Linked DNA regions of Homo sapiens: all the other regions are linked to region 3. The links are contacts of gene promoters, found by promoter capture Hi-C in blood cells and fetal thymus (Javierre and others, 2016). All regions are on one chromosome and are shown on one strand. The core of a region is centred on a gene start or on the middle of the fragment in contact, and the rest is flanking DNA. Distances in the headings are between cores, read along the strand shown.

Evidence for each region. The method cuts DNA at HindIII sites, captures the fragments that hold promoters and counts their contacts. A CHiCAGO score of 5 or more calls a contact.
Region 1: a fragment that was not itself captured here is called in contact with the fragment with the promoter of VPS35 in region 3 in 1 of 17 cell types (total B cells); the score reaches 5.5 in total B cells.
Region 2: a contact is called between a fragment that was not itself captured here and the fragment with the promoter of VPS35 in region 3, in 10 of 17 cell types (total CD8 T cells, naive CD8 T cells, naive B cells and 7 more). The highest score is 12.2, in total CD8 T cells.

What each region holds. Positions count from the first base shown.
Region 1 is chr16:47,019,720-47,023,613 of GRCh38, reverse strand. No RefSeq gene overlaps it. Among named protein-coding and RNA genes, the nearest start is that of DNAJA2-DT, 48 kb to the right of the region's middle. The HindIII fragment of the contact is 4,553 bases long and covers 1-3,894 here.
Region 2 is chr16:46,958,543-46,962,905 of GRCh38, reverse strand. DNAJA2 (DnaJ heat shock protein family (Hsp40) member A2) reads left to right here. Exons shown (of 9, transcript NM_005880.4): 7 at 3,487-3,631; 8 at 3,776-3,903. Among named protein-coding and RNA genes, the nearest start is that of DNAJA2, 13 kb to the left of the region's middle. RefSeq lists an enhancer at 2,290-2,956. The HindIII fragment of the contact is 3,169 bases long and covers 731-3,899 here.
Region 3 is chr16:46,687,060-46,690,810 of GRCh38, reverse strand. VPS35 (VPS35 retromer complex component) reads left to right here and starts at 1,633. Exons shown (of 17, transcript NM_018206.6): 1 at 1,633-1,680. The coding sequence starts at 1,678. ORC6 (origin recognition complex subunit 6) reads right to left here and starts at 1,152. Exons shown (of 7, transcript NM_014321.4): 1 at 1,041-1,152. The coding sequence starts at 1,105. RefSeq lists enhancers at 329-398, 449-528, 766-1,464, 1,465-2,162 and silencers at 869-1,168, 1,489-1,728, 1,879-1,928. The HindIII fragment of the contact is 9,040 bases long and covers 1-3,751 here.

The DNA of each region.
Region 1 (3,894 bases), core at 917-3,416, 330 kb before region 3:
CTGGAATAATAACAGTACCTACTTGAAAGATTGCAAAGATTATATGAGTGAATAAATATACATTCTGGGCACATAATAGGTGCTATATAAAGGTTTGCTATTTTCATAGAAATCATTTTAGGCCAGGTGTGGCGGTTCACGCCTGTAATCCCAGCACTTTGGGAGGCCAAGGCTGGCGGATCACCTGAGGTCAGGAGTTTGAGACCAGCCTGGCCAACATGGTGAAACCTCGTCTCTACTAAAAATACAAAAATTGGCCGGGCATGGTGGCGTGCGCCTGTAATCTCAGCTACTTGGGAGGCTGAGGCAGGAGAATCCCTTGAATCTGGGAGGCGGAGGTTGCAGTGGGCCAAGATCGAGCCACCACACTCTAGCCTGGGCGACAGAGTGAGACTCTGTCTCAAAAAAATAAATAAATAAAAGAAATTATTTTAACGTTATAGTTTAATTATTGGCAAATTGATCATACACAAAAGTCACATCTGGTAACTCATTTGTCTAGAAGAGTTGATGAACCAGGACACTGCTTTCCTTGACCATGTTGGAAAATAGGAAGCTCACGTCCTTGTTGTACAGGAACACAGTAGACAGGATGGTTAACATGAGTCTGAGCTCATTTTTAGCTTAATATAGACACAAACACCTAGATACAGAAATAATCATAGATTTGTGTGCATGCATGGGTTGGTATGCATGTACATTTTTCCCAGCTCTGCCCACTGAGCGGGCCTCAGTAGTGATGACCACAGCCAATATCAAGTCTTGTTTGCTAAACAGTGTTCTCCAATGAAAGGAACCAGGGCTCCTTGGAGAAATGGTTGATGCTAGAAGTAGAGCAAGGCAAATACAAGATAAGCCTGGAGCATCTTGCAATGCCAGAAAGTTTAAAAGAGCTTAAAAAACAAAAAAGATCGGGGCGTGTGGGCAGGTCACAGGGACCCCAGGGCCAACCGGAAAGAACTCCAACAGCCGAAGCTGGAATAATCTGAGCAACAAAATAATGATAGTACTGGACTATAACCTAAAATATAACATAAATACACTTGCGTCCATACACTGCGTCCCAGAAGATCATAATTTATTTATGACGGAAAAGATTAATAAATAGAAGAGACAAATCTTCCTCGAAGAAGAATGCATGTTGATGCTCCCCGCCAGGAAGTGGAGCTTAACCTCCATCTCACCCTATATGGGCCACACCTAGTATTTTCCTTCTTTTTTAAAAAAATAATTTTAAAATAGGCCAGGTACAGTAGCTCATACCTGTAATCCCAGCACTTTGGGAGGACAAGGCAGGTAGATCACTTGAGGTCAGGAGTTCAAGACCAGCCTGGCCAACATGGTGAAACCTCATCTCTACAAAAATACAAAAATTAGTCAGGTGTGGTGGTGGGCGCCTGTAATCCCAGCTACTTAGGAGGCTGAGGCATGAGAATCGCTTGAACCAGGAGGTGGAGGTTACAGTGAGCCATGATCACACCACTGTACTCTAGCCTGGACAACAAACTGAGACCTTGTCTCAAAAAAAAAAAAAAAAATTGGCCGGACACGGTGGCTCACGCCTGTAATCCCAGCACTTTGGGAGGCTGAGGTGGGCGGATCACAAGGTCAGGAGTTCAAGACCAGCCTGGCCAACATAGTGAAACCCCGTCTGTACCAAAAAAGTACAAAAATTAGCTGGGTGTGGTGGCACGCACCTTTAGTACCAGCTACTCAGGAGGCTGAGGCAGGAGAATCTCCTGAACCCAGGAGGCAGAGGTTGCAGTAAGCTGAGACAGCACCATTGCATTCTAGCTTGGGAGACAGAGCAAGATGCTGTCTCAAAAAAAAAATTGTAAAACAAGAATTTTTTTTTTTTTACATAAATAGAGAGCCGGGCAGGGTGGTTCACGCCTGTAATCCCAGCACTTTGGGAGGCCAAGGCGAGTGGATCTCCTGAAGTCAGGAGTTCAGGACCAGCCTGGCCAACATGGTAAAATCCTGTCTCTACTAAAAATACAGAAATTAGCCAAGTGTGGTGACAGGCGCCTGTACTCCAAGCTACTCGGGAGGCTGAGGCAGGAGAATCACTTGAACCCGGGAGGCGGAGGTTGCAGCAAGCCGAGATCATGCCATTGCACTCCAGCCTGGGTGACAACAGCAAAACTGCGTCTCAAATAAATAAATAGAGATGGGGTTTAACCATTTTGCCCAGGCTGGTCTTGAATTCCTGGGCTCAAGTGATCCACCCACCTTGGCCTCCCAAAGTGTGGGATTACAGGCATGAGCCATCATGTCCAGCCTTCTAAATTTTATTATTGTTAATTTTTGTAAAGAGGAGGTCTTGCTATGTTGCCCAGGCTGATCTCAAACTCCTGGTCTCAAGTGATTCTCCTGCCTTGGCCTCCTAAAGAGCCAGGATTACAGGCGTGAGCGACTGCACCCAGCCTATTTTGTAATTTTAATGAGAAGAGCCATGTTATTCCTCTCAAATGGTTCAAGGTCACATGGTCCTAATGTTTGCTATTTACAATCCCATTGTCTTCTAGGCTTTGGCGCTTTATTCATTATTTTATTTTTAAAAAGCAGAACGTGGAATCTAGGATCCCTTATTTTTATCATTTCTTGAAGAACAACAAAAATGATTGTGAAGCAACTGCAAGTTTAAGGTATGCTAAAAAAGACTAATAATAATCCCAGCACTTTGGGAAGCCAAGGCGATGGATCATGAGGTCAGGAGTTCAAGACCAGCCTGGCCAACATAGTGAAACCACATCTCTACTAAAAATACAAAAATTAGCCAGGCGCAGTGGCAGGTGCCTGTAATCCCGGCTACTCAGGAGGCTTAGGCAGGAGAATTGCTTGAACCCAGGAGGCAGAGGTTGCAGTAAGCCAAGATCGCGCCACTGCACTCTAGCCTGTGCAACAGAAGACTCCCATCTCAAAAAAAAAAAAAAAAAAAAAAGACTAATAATAAAGGCCGGGCATGGTGGCTCACACTTGTAATCCCAGCACTTTGGGAGGCTGAGGAGGATGGATTGCTTGAGGTCAGGAGTTCAAGACTAGCCTGACCAACATGGTGAAACCCCATCTCTACTGAAAATACAAAATTAGCCAGGTGTGGTGGTGCATGCTTGTAATCCCAGCTACTCGGAGACTGAGGCAGGAGAATCGCTTGAACCTGGGAGGCAGAGGTTACAGTGAGCTGAGATTGTGCCACTGCACTCCAGCCTGGGCTACAGAGCAAGATTTTGTCTCAAAAACAAACAAACAAATGACTAATAATAAATCAATAGAACATTTGCTAATTTGCCAAGGCTTGTTTTAAATTAAGTGTAAATTATAAAGAAAAAATATCCTGGCCGAGTGCAATGGCGCATGCCTATAATCCCAGCACTTTGGGAGGCCAAGGCGGGCAGATCACAAGGTCAGGAGATCGAGACCATCCTGGCTAACCCGGTGAAACCCCATCTCTACTAAAAATACAAAAACAAAATTAGCAGGGTGTGGTAGCAGGTGCCTGTAGTCCCAGCTACTCAGGAGGCTGAGGTAAGAGAATGGCGTGAACCTGGGAGGTGGAGCTTGCAGTGAGCCAAGATCGCACCACTGCACTCCAGCCTGGGCAACAGAGTGAGACTCTATGTCAAAAAAAAAAAAAAAAAGAATAAAAAGAAAAAATATCATATCCCACCAATACCCTTGGAGGCATTTCCTCTGCATTTAGTGCCTGGAATGCATTCTGATTTTCCAAGGCTCCTTCCGCAGCTCTTGTCATTCATGTCCTTTTCTAAAAGGCATTTTCTCCATGTGCAAATTTCTTTCAGCGCAAATGTTTGCTCTATGCTTATTCTCTGAAGAAAGATACCAACAGTGCCACCATTTGGAAGGAGTTTTAATTGCTCACTGGATTAAAAA
Region 2 (4,363 bases), core at 1,066-3,565, 270 kb before region 3:
AGATGCAGGTTTTAGGAATTTGGTAGTAATCCCTCACAAGGTCAGACTTGATCTCCTGGACAATCAGGGCATGCTAGTCAGCTTTCATGACTCAGCAAAGCTACAAATTATGTATTTTGGCTTTTTGTGGAAATTGCCAACCCTACAGATAGCAAACGTCTCCTCGGTTGTCAAAAAGTAAGAGTAGTTTTTAGAATTCTGCCTTTGGGTCTTGTAGAATGAAATATTTACAAGATTTGCTATTTGTTAACATTTTAGCTACTTCCTTGTTCCTTCAGTCTTGCTGCTGTGCACACCACCATACCAGGAATATGAGGGAGAAAGCTAGCAAGACAGCTAAATAATTGGAAATTCTGCTTGGAGGTTAGACTGTGTTGTAAAATGGTACAGACAGTGCCTGGGCATTTTCATTGATAGAATCCTTGGAGTCGTTTGGGGTTCGTTGTCAAATGATGTCTGGCAGTGCAGCAGCATGATAGGAAGTGAAGAAGGAATGCTTATTTGCAGAGGAAGGATGACTTTTTTTTGGTTTGAGGCATGTCAAACTGATGGTAAAACCTTTTTTATCCCTAAGTTTAGTTTTTAATGTTGCTGCATAATTAAATTGGGTTTTTAAAAGTAGATCATTGGATTTGGAGGCAAAGGACTTAAGGTCTGGGCCCCGTTTACTAGCTTTGGCTTCCCTGGACTTTTTGGATATTAAAGAGTCAAATGAGATTATGAATAAGCTTCTTTCTTGGGGCCTGTGGGGAGGTGTTGGGAAGTAACTCATCTCTGAAAATTGTTGGCAGCAGTGGAATTGGCATGGAATTTTCAACAGAAGGCAGATGTAGCTAGTTGTCTAAAGTAGAAAATAGAAGATGGTAAAGGTTAGAATGGAAGTTTGTCTCGTTCCTTCTTGGGAGTGCTGTATCATCTATAGTCATCATCCTGCCATGTCACTTGTCAGTGTGCCTGTTTGTGTGTCTCGGTGGTCTGGTTACCATAGTGCACTTGTACAGCATCAAACCACAGAACCTGGTGATGTTAGTCACGCCTCTATAACCTGTACTTTTGTTATTCAGAAATATGACTTCTAAGTGTTTTCTGGTCTAGTGCTTGGTGGTCCCTCCTCATTAATCTTGTTTTTCAGAAACTCTCTGGCATCCTTGCTTGTTTATTCTGTTTAAACTTTTAACATCAAATTGTTTAGCTTCCCCGCTCTGCTGCAACAACCATCCTGATAATCATAATCATTTTTTATTGAAATCACTTTCAGTTGAACTCTCCTGTACAAGAACGTGATGTGTATCTCTTCCTGTTCCCTTTTCTTTTTTTTTTTTTTGAGACAGTCTTGCCCTGTCACCCAGACTGGAGTGTAGTGGCGCAATTGTATTTTTAGTAGAGATGGGGTTTCATCATGTTGCCCAGGCTGGTCTCAAACTCCTGACCTCAAGTGATCTGCCTACCTCGGCCTCCCAAAGTGCTAGGATTATAGGTGTGAGCCACCGTGCCCTGCCCCACTTTTTATTTTTGTTTTTATTTTTGAAATGGGGTCTCACTCTGTCACCCAGGCTGGAGTGCAGTGGCGCGATCTCTGTTCACTGCAACCTCCACCTCCCGGGTTCAAGTGATTCTCCTGCCTCAGCCTCCCAAGTAGCTGGGACTACAGGCTCATGCCACCACACCCAGCTAGTTTTTGTATTTTTAGTAGAGACAGAATTTCGCCATGATGACCAGGACCTCAGGTGATCCACCTGCCTCAGCCTCCCAAAGTGCTGGGATTATAGGCATGAGCCACTGCATGCATCCTAAAATAGTATGACTTTAACAAAGGATATTTGGTAAGATGGTTCTTAGAACACTGGCATTTTACAGTATACTTAGCATTTATTTTAAATTTATTATTATTATGTTTAAGAGACAGGATGTCCTTCTGTCTCCCAGGCTGGAGTGCAGTGGCTGGATCATTAATGAGGAGGGACTGCCCCTGCAGGCTCCAAATCCTGGGCTCAAGGGATCGTCCTGCCTCAACTAGCCTAGTTTATGTTTTAATTTTTTGTCTCCCTATGTTGCTGTTTTGAACTGGCCTCCCAAAGCTCTGACCCTATATTTAGCTTTTTTAAATTTTTTTATTTTTTTCTTATTGAGATGGAGTCTCGCTGTGTCGCCCAGGCTGGAGTGCAGTGGTGTGATCTTGGTTCACTGCAGCCTCCGCCTCCCAGGTTCAAGTGATTCTCCTGCCGCAGCCTCCTAAGTAGCTGGGACTACAGGCGCGTGCCACCACACCTGGCTAATTTTTGTATTTTTAGTAGAGATGGGGTTTCACCATATTGGCCAGGCTGGTCTTGAACTCCTGACCTTGTGATCCGCCTGCCTTGGCCTCCCAAAGTGCTGGGATTACAGGTGTGAGCCACTGCACCTGGCCTACTTAGCATTTTTAATGCGTTGAAAAATCCTGCATTAAAAAAACTATTGGTCCCATTGTGAGGAACACTTGAATATATGTGCATACATAACATACCTTCTTGGATCTCAAACTTTAGCACACACACAAGAATTGCCTGGAGGGCTTGTTAGGACTACAGATGCTGGATCTTGCCTGCCTTGTTTCTGGCAGGAATGGAAGTGGGGCCCAAGAATATGTGTTCCTAACAAGTTTCCTGAAGCTGCTGGTCCAGAACCACACTTAGAGAATCATTGGTTAAGGTAATGGTTTAACTTTGTTTAATGAGTAAATTTAGGAGAGTAACATAGGAAAAGAACCTGTCTACCAGATTTTCTATAAGTGAACCGGCCAGGATTGTTCTTTACAAGAAGAGTGACCATTGTAAAATCTAAGCAAAAATTGCAGGTTGGGCGTGTGAAGTTGGATGTATTTTTCCTACACATTGAAGGCTCAGAAACATTCTTTGTGCTTATTCTCAATACCTTTTGCATTACCTAGTCCATAGGCTTATAGTGTAATATTGAATGAGCCAGTTTTGCATTTTAGTGAGATGTGAGACTTGTTGGTATGTGTGTGAAGCACGGAATTGAGCCACTTGACTTTGCTGGCTGGGTGTTAACTGGTTGATGTTGGGTTTTATGTTGATCTTGGACCCTCCCCCCTTCCCTGTTACGATCATGTCTGGGGAGCACTCCAGGGTGAGCCTGTTCTGTAGGAGCCCTCTGGGCATTCTGTACCTTTTTCACCAGAGGCAGAGTCTGAAAGTGGGCAATAGTTGCAGAATATACCTGGCACTGTTTTGAGGGCCTCAGTTCTGTTGCTCTTATATATGCCATTGTTTACCAGTTCCAGTACACCTTCCTCATGGAAGTTTCTCACATACTACTTGGGAATAGCTAGCTTTCCTAATGCGGTTTAGGGCACTAGGGACAGTGGCACTTTGGATTTGCAGTGAGTGGTAGAAATAAGGTTTTGAAATTAAGTCAAGGAACATAATGCTGCAGGGTGTACCTCCATAATTTTTAAGAAAATGTATTTCTTTTGTGCTTTATTTATAGGTATTTCAGAGAGATGGGAATGATTTGCACATGACATATAAAATAGGACTTGTTGAAGCTCTATGTGGATTTCAGTTCACATTTAAGCACCTTGATGGACGTCAGATTGTGGTGAAATACCCCCCTGGCAAAGTAATTGAACCAGGTAAATCTTGATTTTGTCCGATTCTGGTTTTCAAGTATTTTTGAAAAAAATTACAATTTGTAATTTTTTTATACTGCATAACTCTAAAAAAAATTGAACACCTCTTTTGGGTAAAATTATTAATCATTTCCTCTTAAATAATAGGGTGTGTTCGTGTAGTTCGAGGTGAAGGGATGCCGCAGTATCGTAATCCCTTTGAAAAAGGTGATCTTTACATAAAGTTTGATGTGCAGTTTCCTGAAAACAACTGGATCAACCCAGACAAGCTTTCTGTAAGTGTTCTTTAAATTAAACAACAGTTGACTTCCAAGTTTGGAGTTCGGTTTTTGGTTTTTTAGACAGGGTCTCTGTCACCCAGGCTGGGGTGTAGTGGTGTGATCGTGGCTCACTGCAGCCTCGACCTCCTGGGCTGAAGCGATCCTCTCACCTCAGCCCCCAAGGAGCTGGGACTACAGGTGTGTGTTGCCATGCCTGGCTAATTTAAAAAAAATTTTTTGAGACACAGTCTCACTGTGTCACCCAAGCTGGAGTGCAGTGGTGTAGTCTCGGCTCACTGTACCCCCCGCCTCCCAGGTTCAAGTGATTCTCATGCCTTAGCCACCCAAGTAGCTGGGATTACAGGCATGAGCCACGATGCCTGGTAAGTTTGTTGTTGTTGTTGTTTGTTTGTTTATGGGGTTTTTTTGTTTGTTTGTTTTTGTTTTTTTTTTTGAGATGGAGTCTTGCTCTGTC
Region 3 (3,751 bases), core at 384-2,883:
CAAACATCACTGTGCTCAAATGCTTTCAGGCAAAAGGAAGTTAAATTTTGACAAAAAAATTACCCTTCTTTCCTCCTTCCATTACTGGAACAAGCACGAACTATCAGAGACAGGCAGGTTAGACCAGGGTTCCTCCTTTCCTCCTATTTCCTTTAAATCAGTAGTTCTTAAACTTGATGGTAGGCGAAAATCACCTTGGGGACTTGCAAATTACTGGGTCCCAGGCCGAGTTACTGATCAGCAGGCTTGAGGTGGGACCCAAGAATTTGTATTTCTAACAAGTGACAAGATGATATGGCTGTTGCTGGTCCAGGAACCACATTTTGAGAACCACTGTTCTAAATGACTACCGAGTCCTGCAGGTTTGTCTTCAAATCTTTTAAGTGCTGTTTTCCTTGCCTTCCCTCGCCTGACTGCTCCACGTTTTAGCTACAATGGCTTTATTTCGAACCCCGGATCCCGCTTCCCATCTCAACGCTTTTACAGGAGCTGTCGCCCCTGCCTGGGCTGCTCTTGCCATATCTTTCCTCGCCTAGCATCTGCCATCAATCCGGCCTCAGCGGGAACGGCGCCTGCTTTTCCGAGTTTTGTTTGTTTCTTTGTGTTAAAGGCAGCCGCTAGGCCGCGCTCCACCCCAAGCCCAGTGGCTCAGGAGCATTGCCCGGTTAAGGTCTACACAGTCCTCGCCCTTACAGACAGCGGGGTCTGCGCCTCGTTGTCGGGTTCCCCGCTATAAACCCGACTGCAGTAGGCGTTGGCGGAATGAACGGAAAGTTCTCCCTGGCTCATTTTTCTACCCACGGACAGGGCTGGCTGTTCCCAGGGACGTGTGCCATCGCCGTTTGCTATCGCCCTTCTTGCCATCTCATTCAAGCTCACGGCCGAGAAGTTTTTCTTGAAGTAGGCCCTAAACCCCGCCCGGCCCCAGCGCTCCCCGTCACTCCCCCGCCGCCCGTCGCCTGGGAAGGGCGCGGGCCTCACCTGAGGGCCCAGGGCCGCGAGGCGGAAGCCCAGCCCTGGTCTTGCGCGGCCGAACTCACCTCAGCATGTCGGGCTCGGCGAGGCCCAGGCGCGGGGCTAGGCGCCCGATCAGCTCCGACCCCATGGCGCCGGCACTAAAGCGAACAATTCCCGTGAACGCCGCGGGTCAACGAAACCCGCGCGCAAAGGCTGCACCGGCCAGTGAGAGCCAGGCCCCACCCCCGGCGCATCTGGATTGGTTAGGACAGGACGTTGAGACCGTCCCACAAACCAATCAGGGTCTTCCTTTTGCGCATGCGCATCAATAGCGCAATCGCCAACGCAGATGCGGTGAACGTGGACTTGTCGGCTCCCCCTCCTTCCATTCCTTCTTGACAAACTCATCACACACTGCCTTTCCCTCCTGTTGTCTCCTGCCTGCCGCCGGGCGATCCCCACTGCCCTGCACTGCTCCGCCCACTCTCGCACGCTGTGGTGAGATTGGCTGGCGCTCAGGTCCGTCCATCTAGCGTTAAGTGACAGGGCCAATAAGCACGCGAGACTCGGGTTCCTAGAAGTAGGCCAATCAATGAGCCGCCTGTAGGGCCCGGGGGCGGGGCTAGAGAGGGCGGGGCTTGGAGGGGCCGCAGCGTCACATGACCGCGGGAGGCTACGCGCGGGGCGGGTGCTGCTTGCTGCAGGCTCTGGGGAGTCGCCATGGTGAGTGCTGAGGGGGCAGTGGCACCTGGGTCGACCCTCCTTGTAGCCCCTGCTCTCTCCCACCGCCCCGCACTCCAGCGAGTGGAGAAGGGGCCCCACAGACCGTTCGGGATTAAGACCAGCCCGATTTGGCCTGCGGGATAGGGGACAGCAGGAGGAAGGCCGCGGGCAGGCTGATCCGGGCCGGGGTGGGCGGCGGCTCTTGGCTGCGGCCGTTGCTGAGAGACGGGGCGGCCTCTCTGTGGGGTTGACTTGGCATGTAGGCTTTGGGGTCCATGAAGGCCTGCGGCCTCCTTTAAGTGGAATCGGTCACCTGCCTACCACGAGGGGACCGGTAGTCCTAGGTCTGAGCGTCTGGCCCCCGGGGCGCGTGGAGGCCCTGAGACTCGGAGGTGGCGCCGGGACCCGCCCAGATGTTGCGTTTCTACCTTTGTGCCTAGTTGTGCTCGGCCGTCCCCACGCCCTCCTGGAGGGGTCGCAGTGATTCCTTGGCCTTTCTTGGCCTCATACCCGCCTTCGGCTGCAGTGTTTGTCAGCGAGTTCTGGGGACCTGCTTACATGAATTTCCTGGAAGGACTCAGGCTGTCTTCTAATCCTGACGGTCGCAAAGGAGACTGATTGTTTACTTTAGCATTTGTGCATTGGGCGCACCTTGCCTCTTTTGTCTCGCCATTGATAAAATCCAAGTATTTGACTTGCTGGAAGCAGTACTTCTCCTTAGGGCCCGTCTATGACGGCAGCAAATCGTGGTGTGGCTGTTGGCCGGTAAACTTGAACTTCCTCAAAATGTGAATCTTTGTGTCTGGTTCCCACAAAGGCAAGTTGTCACTTGCATTTTATTAGCGTTTAACATAGCCTGCACTGTGTAAATAAATTTTTTGAGTATATACTGTATGTCCGCTTTAATTACCTTACTCACTCTGTGTAGATAGGCTTCTGTAAATCTGTAAGCCTGGAAACAGATTTCACTTTAAATGTCTTAATGCCAGAAAGGATTAAGTGTTTTACAAATACTATTTTCATATAACGTGTTGCCGTACAAGGTGATTTTGCCTGTTTCTCAGGATTTTTATAATTGGGAATTGATACAAGACCGGCGCAAAATTTAACTTTAGGATTTGTGTGTTTCCAGCGTTTATGGATTGACATTTATATTGTTTTGTAATGGAAAACACTTAATTGAGGATGTATTACACACTCCGATTCTTTGTTGGGTGAACCAGTTGGGAGCAATCAGCCAGACACACAGTCTTGTCCTCATGAATTTTATTGGGAAAGGAAACTTGAGTATTCGTTCTTTCACAGTCACTGTCTATAATTTAGGCAGCTCGCTTAGTCTTCTTGGTGTCGCACTTTTGCATCCGAAAGCAAGTGTTGGCGGCCCCTTTGGCCCTTCCCAGCCCTAAAATTCCAGAATCCACTTCAATTCATCAAACATCTTGTGTGCCTTCAGTGTCACGGACTGTGGCCCTGGGTACCAATGTCGAACTTAAGAGGCTACTGGGGGAGACACGCTTGTAGAACTTAACTGTAATACAGTGTGTGGATTGCTTTACTAACATTGTCAACTCAGTGCTTTGGGGTCATGGAGGGATAGTTTTGCCTGGGGATTTTGGGAAGGACTACAGGAAGTAACGTGAACTGAGACTATAAAGAGGGTGGAAAGAAATTCTCCAGGTGGAAAGAAAAGGTATTGCTAATAGATGAAGCCAAAACGTTCAGTGTGCTCCATCAGAGGATTCTTGGGGATATGTATTGGAAATGAAGTTAGAGCCGTTTGGTGTTCAAATTATATTTTGAAGTTGTCATGCCCTCATCATCCTTATTTCTCTCTACTTCAGTTGTCAATGTATGCCATGTCATCATTTTTAAAATAGTTCTTTCATTAACGTGATATTCTGTACCTTTGTTTGAAGAAATGAGCGTTACATTTGGTTTACATTGTACTGTCAGATTACATCTACAGCATATAAGCAGGGAGGTTGAACCACAATAGGTTTCTAACATAAGTGGAGATAATTATTTGTATCTAAACTGAATAATAATTATAGCACTTATTAAGTGCTTATTG